Regions from separate parts of the Homo sapiens genome. Here regions 2 and 3 are each linked to region 1. Evidence: promoter capture Hi-C in human tissues and cell types (Jung and others, 2019). All regions are on one chromosome and are shown on one strand. The core of a region is centred on a gene start or on the middle of the fragment in contact, and the rest is flanking DNA. Distances in the headings are between cores, read along the strand shown. Region 1 holds the start of AFF3 (ALF transcription elongation factor 3). Region 2 overlaps AFF3 (ALF transcription elongation factor 3). Region 3 overlaps AFF3 (ALF transcription elongation factor 3).

The links. Contacts are between HindIII fragments. The study calls those that stand out against the background at their distance.
Region 2: a fragment that was not itself captured here is called in contact with the fragment with the promoter of AFF3 in region 1 in 1 of the 25 tissues and cell types used here (IMR-90 fibroblasts).
Region 3: a fragment that was not itself captured here is called in contact with the fragment with the promoter of AFF3 in region 1 in 1 of the 25 tissues and cell types used here (mesenchymal stem cells).

What each region holds. Positions count from the first base shown.
Region 1 is chr2:100,140,858-100,144,780 of GRCh38, forward strand. It overlaps AFF3 (ALF transcription elongation factor 3), which reads right to left and starts at 1,733. Exons shown (of 25, transcript NM_001386135.1): 1 at 1,627-1,733. The HindIII fragment of the contact is 13,656 bases long and covers 1-3,923 here.
Region 2 is chr2:99,708,672-99,712,594 of GRCh38, forward strand. The region is part of intron 11 of AFF3 (ALF transcription elongation factor 3); the gene reads right to left. Among named protein-coding and RNA genes, the nearest start is that of REV1, 220 kb to the left of the region's middle. The HindIII fragment of the contact is 7,042 bases long and covers 1-3,923 here.
Region 3 is chr2:99,738,660-99,742,582 of GRCh38, forward strand. All of the region lies in intron 10 of AFF3 (ALF transcription elongation factor 3), which reads right to left. Among named protein-coding and RNA genes, the nearest start is that of REV1, 250 kb to the left of the region's middle. The HindIII fragment of the contact is 5,333 bases long and covers 1-3,923 here.

The DNA of each region.
Region 1 (3,923 bases), core at 483-2,982:
TGCTCTGGCCTTAAGTGTCACCCCCCAAACCCATTTTACACACACCACCTCCCACCTTTCACCTTTCCCAAACTCTTACCATGTCCCTTCAAGTTTGATGGCTTAATTGTACAAAAGGTAGTGATGATGATGATGATGATGATGACAATGATAACAGCTGCTAATACTTACTGAGCCCTTTCAATGTTCCAGGCACTTGTCTAAGCACTTTACATGTATTAGCTTATTTAATTCTTAAGAGGAAGGGATTACTATCTACTATTGTACTTGTGTTACAGATGTGGGAACTCCGATGCAGAGATGTATAGTGACTTGCCTAAAACCATCATGTTAGAGTGGGAATTTAAACCTTGAAATCTGGAAAATAAGCAATGTATATATTTTTCTATTTTCTAAATGCAAATCAAATATACATATGCATAACACCACTAAACACTAAGTGCAGTTACGCCTAGAACAAGGGAATAGCAGTTGACAGAAACACAACCAAAACTAAGAATATTAAATGTCTGTATTACTTTCACTGTAATCACTTCACTTCAACAGTGAGATGGGATAGCCCTAGGTAAAGGAAGGTGCTCTTGTAGTTAGAACATTCTTAAATTTTGCACCAAGGAACACATGCTTTTAATAATGGCAGAGACAACATTTTTTGATGGATTATTTAGTTTGTACGATCAACATTCAAAGAATGAGTTTACCACCACTTTGTTATTGTAAACACTTGACCTTTAGCTACCTGAATGATCCCCTCTTTGAATAAAAGGAATTATGAAACACATGTGTAGACATATTTCATTTTTATATATGTGAGACTCGAATAGCAAGGAAATCACATATTAGGAAAAAAACCCCTTTGTCTTGCTATTAGTTCTCTTTGGTTTCAAAAATCTGGTCACTGTGTATATTGCATTATATCATATGTGTGTGTACATATATATACACACATAAACACACATACACACAATGTCATGTGTATAAATACATGATGTGTTTATGCACATACACAGACACACACACACAAATACACACATATACAATGTTCCATCCAAGAAATACAAATATAGTGCTGTTAGCCCCTAACAGTGAGGAGGTCATTATTCCAAGTCATTTCTGCAGAAGTGACGGTGGCCTTAGGTGGAACTGCCCATGATCTCTCCTTGCAAGCTCACTCACTGGGGCCATTGACTGGGATCCAGTCTGTGGCCATGTCATGGTTTCTATTTTTGAGGTTATAGCTAATGAGCAACATGAGGTTAAGACACACTTTTCATAAGGCCCCAGCCAGCATCATAAATATGTGTGTGAGCATGTTCACACTCAGGTTATGTCTTCTTTATGTGCACCCTCTACCACACACACACACACACATGCACACGCACACACACTGACGGCTTCAGTGACCAACTTTGGTCACATCCCATCTCTTCCTTCTCAATCCCTCTGGCTGTTCACCAGGGCCTGGACCATCTCGGTGAGGCTGACCAAGAATGCTCCCCCTGCCCTGACCAGCGGAGCATGGGCACAGCTACTTAGAGCGCCACCCTTCAGGACACAAAGTCGGGGCTACCTCTCTTCCAGGCAAGGCATCCTAGAGGGCCCGCACACCCTCCAGTTTGATCTTACCTCTCAGCTCCCGTTCCTTTTCTTTCTCTCCCCAGTAAGTCGTTGAACGTCTTTCTTCTGAGGCTGAGCGTGGAGCTCTCTTCTCGCTGGCGAGCTTTCTGAATGGCACTTTCTGTACAAACAGGAAGAGCATGTGTGGTCACAACCCAAGTGTGCAGGTGTTGATAGAGGATGTGAAAGTGTGGAGGCGAGTGACTAAACCAGATACCCAACCGGCCAACTCTCACTTGTGGCAGGGCCTGGTCTACCAGAAGGCTGGAAGCAGGAACCTGGACTCTACTCTGGGGAGACCAACTGACAAAAGCAGAGGATGGTGGCCCTGGAGGCCAAGGGAGAAGGTCTCTTTGACTCCTGTGCTTTCTAACCCTATGCAGACCCATAAAAGAATCCCAGGAACATTTTGGAATCTCTTAGATATATGATTATCAAGAATGTTGATTTCAATGGGCTGCTTAACTTGTCCAAAGCTCTGCTGGTTTCCCAGGCTGTCTGGGCCTCCAAGAGATCAGGACCAAAGGCTCATCCTGCATTGGAACTGTGACAAGTCTTCCAGACCTTTCTAGAACAAAGCTACACCAGGAAAGAAGAGTCTTAGGCAAGGAATCAGATGTCCTAAGGCTGCTCTACATGACCTACATGATGGGTGTTACCTCCTCATCTCCCATTCAGTCAACCCACGGGCACTGGACTTCCTGCCCGACACCCTTCCCTCTCCCCATTCATGCCTGGAATTATTTTCACTAATGACACCAGGGATTCACTAATGGATGCTTTTTCAGTTCCTGTCCTATTTGTCTCCACTGGCAGTGTTTGACTTCCCTGTAGTGTTGACCATTTCTTTCCTCCCAGAACTTCTGCCTGGGCCGCCATGACTCCATACTCTCCTGGTTTTTGTCAGGCGGTCTCTCACACTGGCAGGCTTCCATTCTTTGGTCTTAATTTTCGCCCTCCTGCAAGCTCCACTCTCCGCCTCATGGTTCCTGTTCTCCATGGGTGGCCTCTTCCCAGCTCCAGATGGAACTTGCCAAGCCCACATCCATAGCATCACACATTTCTGCTGTTCTCCTGGAACATCCCCCAGCACCTCCCGTCAGACTCGCCACAATGAAACCCTGCTCTGTCCTCTACCCCACTCATTACTTACCATGTGGCCTGTGAATTCCCTCCTGCCTTGTCCCAGCTTGCTCCTCAGGTCTCTACCCCCTTCTGAGTTTACCACCTTCTGATCTCTCACTTTGCCTCTGCTAATCTGGCTTCTTCAGGTTTGACCCTCCATTATCCTCATCCAAACAGGCCCGTCCTTATCCTGAGAATGGATACCTAGAAACTTCCCCACCCAGTCCTATCCCAAGCCCTGGGAAATTATCCCAGTATTGTCTGCCTCATGTCCCTGGCAAGGAGAAAACGTTTCTTTATCTTATACCCAAACCAGAAATGGGGAGGCTTCCCACGTTCTTCTCTTTGCTGAATACTCTTCAACCTTCCATCACCAAGCCCTGCCCATTCTACCTCTTCAGTCACTCCTCAGATCCTTCTTCCCGTCCGCATCTCCACAGCCACACCCTCCCTCCATTGCCTCTCATCACTGCCCTAATCCCCAAGGGGTACGTGCACCCAGGGCACACCAGACCGTTCACTGAAGGATGAGAAGAAAGGAATTGAATGTCTATCTACCCACACTTGTCTGGTTTTTGTATTTAATTAAGACTCACATACCATAAAATGAGCCGTTTTAAGATGGGGAATCCTGTGGCATTGAGTACACTCACAATGCTGTGCAGCCACCACCTCCATCGAGTTCCCAGACTTACATCTATTTTTACGTCATGTTTTTAGTGTTTACATTTTGTGTATGTTTCAAGGCATGCAATGTGTGAATACAGTTGTATTGTATATCATTTGTGAATAATCATACATCTGCTCAGAATAGGCGGCAAAGACTTTTTTGCTGAAGAAGATACAAAATTAGAAAAGTGGGGACACGTGACCTCCTAACTCATCTCTCACATGTCAGGCTCTAGAGTGTTTTCCAAACTGCCTCCAAATTTTCTCTGCAAAAGACTACAAAAATGATGACAGTACACTCCCCTCACCCCACGACCAGTCCTTAAACGCTTCAATGGCTCCCTGTCACCCACAGGAAAATCCCAAGGCTCCATCGCTGGGCAGGCGAGATGTTGGATTCAGTGGCCTCTGCCCACTCCCCAATACCATCTCTTGCCATCCTTGATACCACTTCCTTCCTCACCACCCAACAATCCCACCACCACTCATGGTTTCTTGAACTTTCAGGCTGC
Region 2 (3,923 bases), core at 863-3,362, 430 kb before region 1:
TTCACATGAATGTTGAAATGTAATAAAATGATCACTTTTTGGGCATTTTGAAAGGGCAGATAAAAATATTGATATGCTTCTGACATTTAAAGATAAGATGAAGATCTTAATTACATTAATTATTAATTCAGGTGTATTTCTGAACATCTAAAGAAACCCAGGAGGGCGACACATAATTCCAAAATGCCGTTCTCTTATTTAGAGACACATTGATATTCAGTATTTTGGAACTATTTTGAAGTTTAATAGCTGAAATGGAGGCTGTACTTTAAATTCTTAAACTGGACTTTAAATTCTTAATTCAATTCAAAGAATAATACAAGATAGGTGAAGAAGGAAGAGAAACAGAAGGGGGTAAAGGGAGAAAGTACCAGAAGGAGAAACAAAATAATCACACAGAGGTGTGAGAAAAAGTATGGGCTCTAGGCGGGTGCAGAGTCAGGTGCTCTAGCACCTGTTTGTGAACCCAGCTACTCAGGAGGCTGAGCAGGGAGGATCACTTAAGCCCAGGAGTTCAAGGCCAGCCCAGGCAAATAGGGAGATCTCTTTTTTGAAAAAAGTATGAGTTCAGGAGTCAAACTGGGTTCAAACCCTAGCTCTGTCACAAACTAGCTGTGTGAGGCTGGTCCAGTTTCCTAACCTTTCTGTGCACATATTCCTTATCTGAAAATGGGGATAACCACCCCAGAGAGCCGTAAGAGTATGAGACAAGCACTCAGAACAGTGCCAAGAACACAGTAAATGCTCAGTAAGTTTTAGGGGTGAAGATCACGTGATCTAGCCCAAACTATCAATAGAAAGATAAAACTCACCAAGTCAGAGAATGTCTCCACTTTGATAACTGGGTCATGAGAGAAAAGATTTTTCTCTTGCAGTCAAATGGGTATTTTAAAAAAATTATAAATAGCAATATTTTATGTATTTACTCATTAAAAAGAAACTTCTCTTTATTTTCAGAGGATACAACTTCCAAGGTTGTGTGAAATTAGCATGATACTACTGTTCCAAGAAGTGAAGCTATATGGTTATCAGTTCTATCCAACTACTGGTTATTCTTGTTTCACCCTACTTATTATTCTATTTACTCCCAGAAACTCCACAAGCAAATAAATGACACTCTTTCTCATCCCTACCCCCAAAGCCAATTAATCGAACTTGATCGTCTAGCTTTACTGTTAAGCAGATTTTCAAATGAAATAGTCCCAAATCACTGGGTTTCCAGCCATCTGGAAACCACTTTGAACTTCATTTGTTTATCCATGTTTTTAATGCAGCTCAGGTGTCTGTAGTCTGAGGCAGTGAGGAAAACAAGTGCTTCTGAGTCAAACACCTCTGGGGTAAAATCCTGGCTTGGCCATGCTGCCTACCTGGGTGAGCTCTCTCTGCCTTGGTTTCTTATCTATACAATGGGATATTCTAATGTTGTCTCCTTTCTGAGTTGCTATAAAGATTCGAAGAGCTGATTCATGTATAGGGTGATCCTATGTTTCAGCTTACACTTATTGTCCCTGCAGAATTGTTACACTATTACCCTTATTTTTATAAAGTATTTAATACAGAGCCTGGCACACAGTATTCAGTATTTGTTTTTTGTTTCTTTTTTTGAGACAGAGTCTCTATTGTCCAGGCTGGAGTGCAGTGTTGCGATCTTGGGTCATTGCAACCTCTGCTTCCCCAGTTCAAGGGATTATCATGCCTCAGCTTCTTCCCAAGTAGCTGGGATTACAGGCGTGCGCTACCATGCCCGACTAATTTTTGTATTTTTAGTAGAGATGGGGTTTCACCATGTTGGTAAAGTTGGTCTCGAACTCCTGACCTCAAGTGATCAGCCTTCCAAAGTGTTGGTATTACAGGTGTGAGGCACTGTGCCTGGCCAGTATTCAGTATTTGTTACCTCTTAATCATGATATACCAACACCTGCAGTATTCTAACTAAATCCTTGAAATCCCATGGAATCCTTATTTTTAAAGCAAGAATAGCCTTTTTTGACACAAAAAGGTGAGTGCCTGCCTGAATGTGAAAGTTTGGTCACCTGCCCATTATCTCCACATTCCCTGTCCCTTTGGATATTTCAGTCATTTAAGAAGTTAAAAGTGGGGGTGGAATTCTCTGCGGTAGAACCTTGGAGGCAGAGGCTAACATATTTTACATGCTTTGGCAGGATCATGTGAGCACAGCTTTACTAAAATACACTCTGCCAACAGCAGAAGGCCCTCTGAGGTGAGCAGGTGGGACGAGGCTGGGAAGCTGTCACTTGACTTCTGCCAGCTACTCGGAATGTCAGATGAATCCCAGACTGCAGCCCCTGCGGTTTCCAAGGCCCCCATCACTGCACAGAAATACCAGGCTCACTCAGCGACAGGAGCCAGGCTTCCTCCTGTCGCTCCTCCCCAGCCTCCTCACAGCCTCAAGATGCAATTCTCTTGACAGTAGGGAGGGAGGGCAGATATTAAGGGCTTTTAGGGAAATACCAGCCCTTTCTTCAGAAATGGGGTTTCTTCCTTAACATCTCTCCCGTTTCATGTGCCCTCTGTGCCAGGCCGCGTGTGGTGTCTCCAAGAGGATCTGGAGCAGGCGGACCCAGTCGGAATCTTGGCTCTGCGGCTCATGACTGCAAACCCCTCCAGGAGCCAACTCACTTCTCTGAGACCTCGTTTTTCTCTTCTGTAATATGAGATGTAATAATGTAATAATACATCTCATTGGATTGTTATGAGGATTAAATGAGACAACATGTCCAGTAGACTGCCTGGTACAAAATAGGCATCTAAGGCATGCCAAGTATCTTTATGGTCCCAGGCTGCCTGAGAAGGGGTCAGCATTAGAGGCATGCGGGTGCAAAGAGAACCTGCGATCTAGGGGTGGAAGGTGGGCGGGCTTCAGTGTGCAAATATGCAAGCTTGGCATTTAGGAGGTTTTACATCTCAACTAGAATCCAAGGAAGAGGGAGAACAAATCCAGCTGATGGTATTTCTGAAAGAAGACGCACAGCGAATGTATGTGTTCCAGCCATCCTTTGTAGTATCCTGCATTCCTTCATTTATTCATACTGTACTTGCTTATTGAATAAGTACTATGTTCTCAATGCTAGAAACACTTCAACACAAGAGCATGAAGATTCATTAAAGATAACATTGGGAGGAAGCACAGGCAGTCTGTTAATGTCAGGCAATATTTATTGATTGCTTGCTGCAGTCAATAAATATGGTAATACCAGCCACAATCTCCCACAGCCCGGGCGACTCCTCAGAAAAACGTTGGCACCTGTTAAAGCCACAGTGAGTATGGAGTAGCTGAAGTTTCTTAACTCATGTCTCTGTGGACTGAAGAGCTCATTGCAAAAGGGCCAAACTCGCTTCCAGAGACTGTTCCCCACCTTAATCATAACTGAAGTAAACCATTGCTTATGTGGTCTAACTGGAGTCACTGAAAACTTCCCTTCTCCCATGACATATATTCCAAATGCCTACTTGTTGAACCTATGAATGGGTCCTAAAATATTCTGGGTTGTCAGTTCTTTGGGTTAAAACTTTCCTAGGTCCTACTGGAATGCTCTTGGGTTCTCCAAGGGGAATACTTCAGGGAGCCATATATTCTAGTCGCCTCTTGGCAGCGTGCACCAGAGGAAAGGCCTGTGTAGGAAGACACTCACTGGCTGAGCTCTTTCAGCCTCAGTTTCCTCATCTGTAAATTGAGGAAAGACGAGCCCAGCTTTCAGAGCTACTGGGAAGACTGAAGAGATCATTTACACAAAGTGACTAGGCCAGGGCTAGAAACATGGCAGGGGCCCAGTGCATGCCATTTCCTTCTCCTTCCTCACTCCTTTGGCACAAAGCATCTCAGAAGTTGGTCAGTAACCTCTACTGTGTTTTGTGAACAGGGGCTGACAAAAGTGAACATGTGCAATTGTGACCTGCATTTA
Region 3 (3,923 bases), core at 679-3,178, 400 kb before region 1:
TGTATCAGTATTCCGATCAATTTTTCTAACACACCTATCCTTTGTAGGGAAGAGCTGATTTATGGCTCTTTGTAAGTGGGCAGGGTATGCTGATGTGAAGGATTCATTTAGGGCTCAAGAGAAGAGAAGCCTCCAGGCAAGCTGTAAGCCCAAGCCCTTCCTCCACCCACTCCTCTAAGAAAAATATAAAGCACTGTACTTTAGGTGTATAGAATTTTTGTTTATTTCCCTTGAGAAATAGTTGACTCTTCTGCCATTACTCCATGTCATCTATTTTTAAGGTCTGGTACTATCTTAGAATGTATTCTGTTTCTCTCTTTGGTATTAGTTCTCAGTGAGGAGTGAACTGTTCAATTTTTTTTTTTTTTAGCAAATATTATGGTACTTTTTGTTTTTGGGGGTTTTTGAGAAAAAATCATCCTGAAAGCTCTGTGTGGGAATCCGTGAGGATGGGGGTGGAGGGGTAATGGTTGAAGGATGGCCAGGTGTTCCCATCACTGCAAGCAATTCGCACTTGTTCTCTCTTGGGGTCCAGTGGAAATGTGGTCTTTCCTGGGGCTCCTGGGGGCTGTTCCCACCACCACTAAAACTTGTTCCTGTCTGATTCTTCCTTTGCTGTGTCACGACCTTCCCTGTTCAGGGGTATTTTTCAGTAGGGTTTTATTACTTTCGGCTTTCCAGAACACAACTAAATTTCTGGTTTGCTGATGGCACTTATTCTGATGGTGCTATTTTGGATTTATTTCCATTTCTACAGCTTCATGGCTATTAGGTGGGGATTCTGAAGGAAGGGGAAGGATTGCTTAAATGCAGTCACTCAACTGAACAGGACGTTCTCATAATTTTTAAAAATGTAGACATAAATCATCCATGTTAATATTCAAGTATCTCAATGCTTAATAAGCTTCCATTTTATAATATCAAGTTCAATTGATCAGTAATTCAGCAAACGATCTACCTTTTAAAAGATTTGTATTGAAAGTCATTTTCTGTTTATACAATCTTTCCTTTAGTATCTATAATACAGTCTTTCTCACTTCAAAGAGAATAGAAGCACTGGCCTAAAATAATGAGTTAGTAATCAATCCACACAGATATTTTGTTTTTGGTTTCTCTGAAGCTCAGTATTTCTCTATTTCTTTTTTTTAATTTTTATTTTATTATTATTATACTTTAAGTTTTAGGGTACATGTGCACAATGTGCAGGTTAGTTACATATGTATACATGTGCCATGCTGGTGTGCTGCACCCATTAACTCATCATTTAACATTAGGTATATCTCCTAAAGCTATCCCTCCCCCCTCCCCCCACCCCACAACAGTCCCCAGAGTGTAATGTTCCCCTTCCTGTGTCCATGTGTTCTCATTGTTCAATTCCCATCTATGAGTGAGAATATGCGGTGTTTGGTTTTTTGTTCTTGCGATAGTTTACTGAGAATGATGAGTTCCAATTTCATCTATGTCCCTACAAAGGACGTGAACTCATCATTTTTTATGGCTGCATAGTATTCCATGGTGTATATGTGCCACATTTTCTTAATCCAGTCTGTCATTGTTGGACATTTGGGTTGGTTCCAAGTCTTTGCTATTGTGAATAGTGCCGCAATAAACATACGTGTGCATGTGTCTTTATAGCAGCATGATTTATAGTCCTTTGGGTATATACCCAGTAATGGGATGGCTGCGTCAAATGGTATTTCTAGTTCTAGATCCCTGAGGAATCGCCACACCGACTTCCACAATGGTTGAACTAGTTTACAGTCCCACCAACAGTGTAAAAGTGTTCCTATTTCTCCACATCCTCTCCAGCACCTGTTGTTTCCTGACTTTTTAATGATTGCCATTCTAACTGGTGTGAGATGGTATCTCATTGTGGTTTTGATTTGCATTTCTCTGATGGCCAGTGATGGTGAGCATTTTTTCATGTGTTTTTTGGCTGCATAAATGTCTTCTTTTGAGAAGTGTCTGTTCATGTCCTTTGCTCACTTTTTGATGGGGTTGTTTGTTTTTTTTCTTGTAAATTTGTTTGAGTTCATTGTAGGTTCTGGATATTAGCCCTTTGTCAGATGAGTAGGTTGTGAAAATTTTCTCCCATTTTGTAGGTTGCCTGTTCACTCTGATGGTAGTTTCTTTTGCTGTGCAGAAGCTCTTTAGTTTAATTAGATGCCATTTGTCAATTTTGGCTTTTGTTGCCATTTTGACATGAAGTCCTTGCCAATGCCTATGTCCTGAATAGTAATGCCTAGGTTTTCTTCTAGGGTTTTTATGGTTTTAGGTCTAACGTTTAAGTCTTTAATCCATCTTGAATTAATTTTTGTATAAGGTGTAAGGAAGGCATCCAGTTTCAGCTTTCTACATATGGTTAGCCAGTTTTCCCAGCACCATTTATTAAATAGGGAATCCTTTCCCCATTGCTTGTTTTTCTCAGGTTTGTCAAAGATCAGATAGTTGTAGACATGCGGCGTTATTTCTGGAAGCATTCCCTTTGAAAACTGGCACAAGACAGGGATGCCCTCTCTCATCACTCCTATTCAACATAGTGTTGGAAGTTCTGGCCAGGGCAATTAGGCAGGAGAAGGAAACAAAGGGTATTCAATTAGGAAAAGAGGAAGTCAAATTGTCTCTGTTTGCAGATGACATGATTGTATATCTAGAAAACCCCATTGTCTCAGCCCAAAATCTCCTTAAGCTGAGAGGCAACTTCAGCAAAGTCTCAGGATACAAAATCAACGTACAAAAATCACAAGCATTCTTATACACCAACAACAGACAAACAGAGAGCCAAATCATGAGTGAACTCCCATTCACAATTGCTTGAAAGAGAATAAAATACCTAGGAATCCAACTTACAAGGGACGTGAAGGACCTCTTCAAGGAGAACTACAAGCCACTGCTCAATGAAATAAAAGAAGATACAAACAAACGGAAGAACATTCCATGCTCATGGGTAGGAAGAATCAATATCATGAAAATGGCCATACTGCCCAAGGTAATTTACAGATTCAATGCCATCCCCATCAAGCTACCAATGACTTTCTTCACAGAATTGGAAAAAACTACTTTAAAGTTCATATGGAACCAAAAAAGAGCCCGCATCGCCAAGTCAATCCTAAGCCAAAAGAACAAAGCTGTAGGCATCACACTACCTGACTTCAAACTATACTACAAGGCTACAGTAACCAAAACAGCATGGTACTGGTACCAAAACAGAGTATTTCTCCATTTCTTACATGTTTACTGGAATCATGATTCCTAACCATATACAAAAACAGCAAGGGAAATGCTGGTGGGGTCAGTTCTCCTAAAGTTTCAAATGTGCTGTAAATTGCAGAGAATTCTCAGACTTAATAGGAATATTATTTTTGTATACATGTGCTGGGGTTTTGGAGAAAGATTTATTTAAAAATGAAAAAAGGCCAGGTGTGGTGGCTCACACCTATAATCTCAGCACTTTTGGAGGCCAAGGCAAGAGGACCGCTTGAGGCCAGGAGTTCAAGACCAGCCTGTGCAACATAGTGAAATGCTGTCTATAAGAAAAATTTTAAAAAGTGGTATGTGCCTGTAGTCCTGGCTACTTGGGAAGCTAATGTGGGAGGATTGCTTGAGCCCAGGAATTCAAGGTTATAGTGAGCTATAATTGTGTCACTGTACTCTAGCCTGGGCAACAGAGCAAGACCTTGTCTCAAGAAAATGAAATTAAAAAAAAAATCCCCTTACTCCTAGAAAAGAAAAAGCCAATCAAAAACCTTTCTTGGACAATGAAATGCCAGAGGGTTTTATACCACACAGGGATAGTGCCACATCATGTCTTGTAGAAGAAGCATCCGTTTTTATAGAATCTAAATTGCAGTGAATATTATAGCATGCCATAAAAATATGCCGGGTGCACACAGAAATCACAGCAGACAGTCCTTGGACAATAA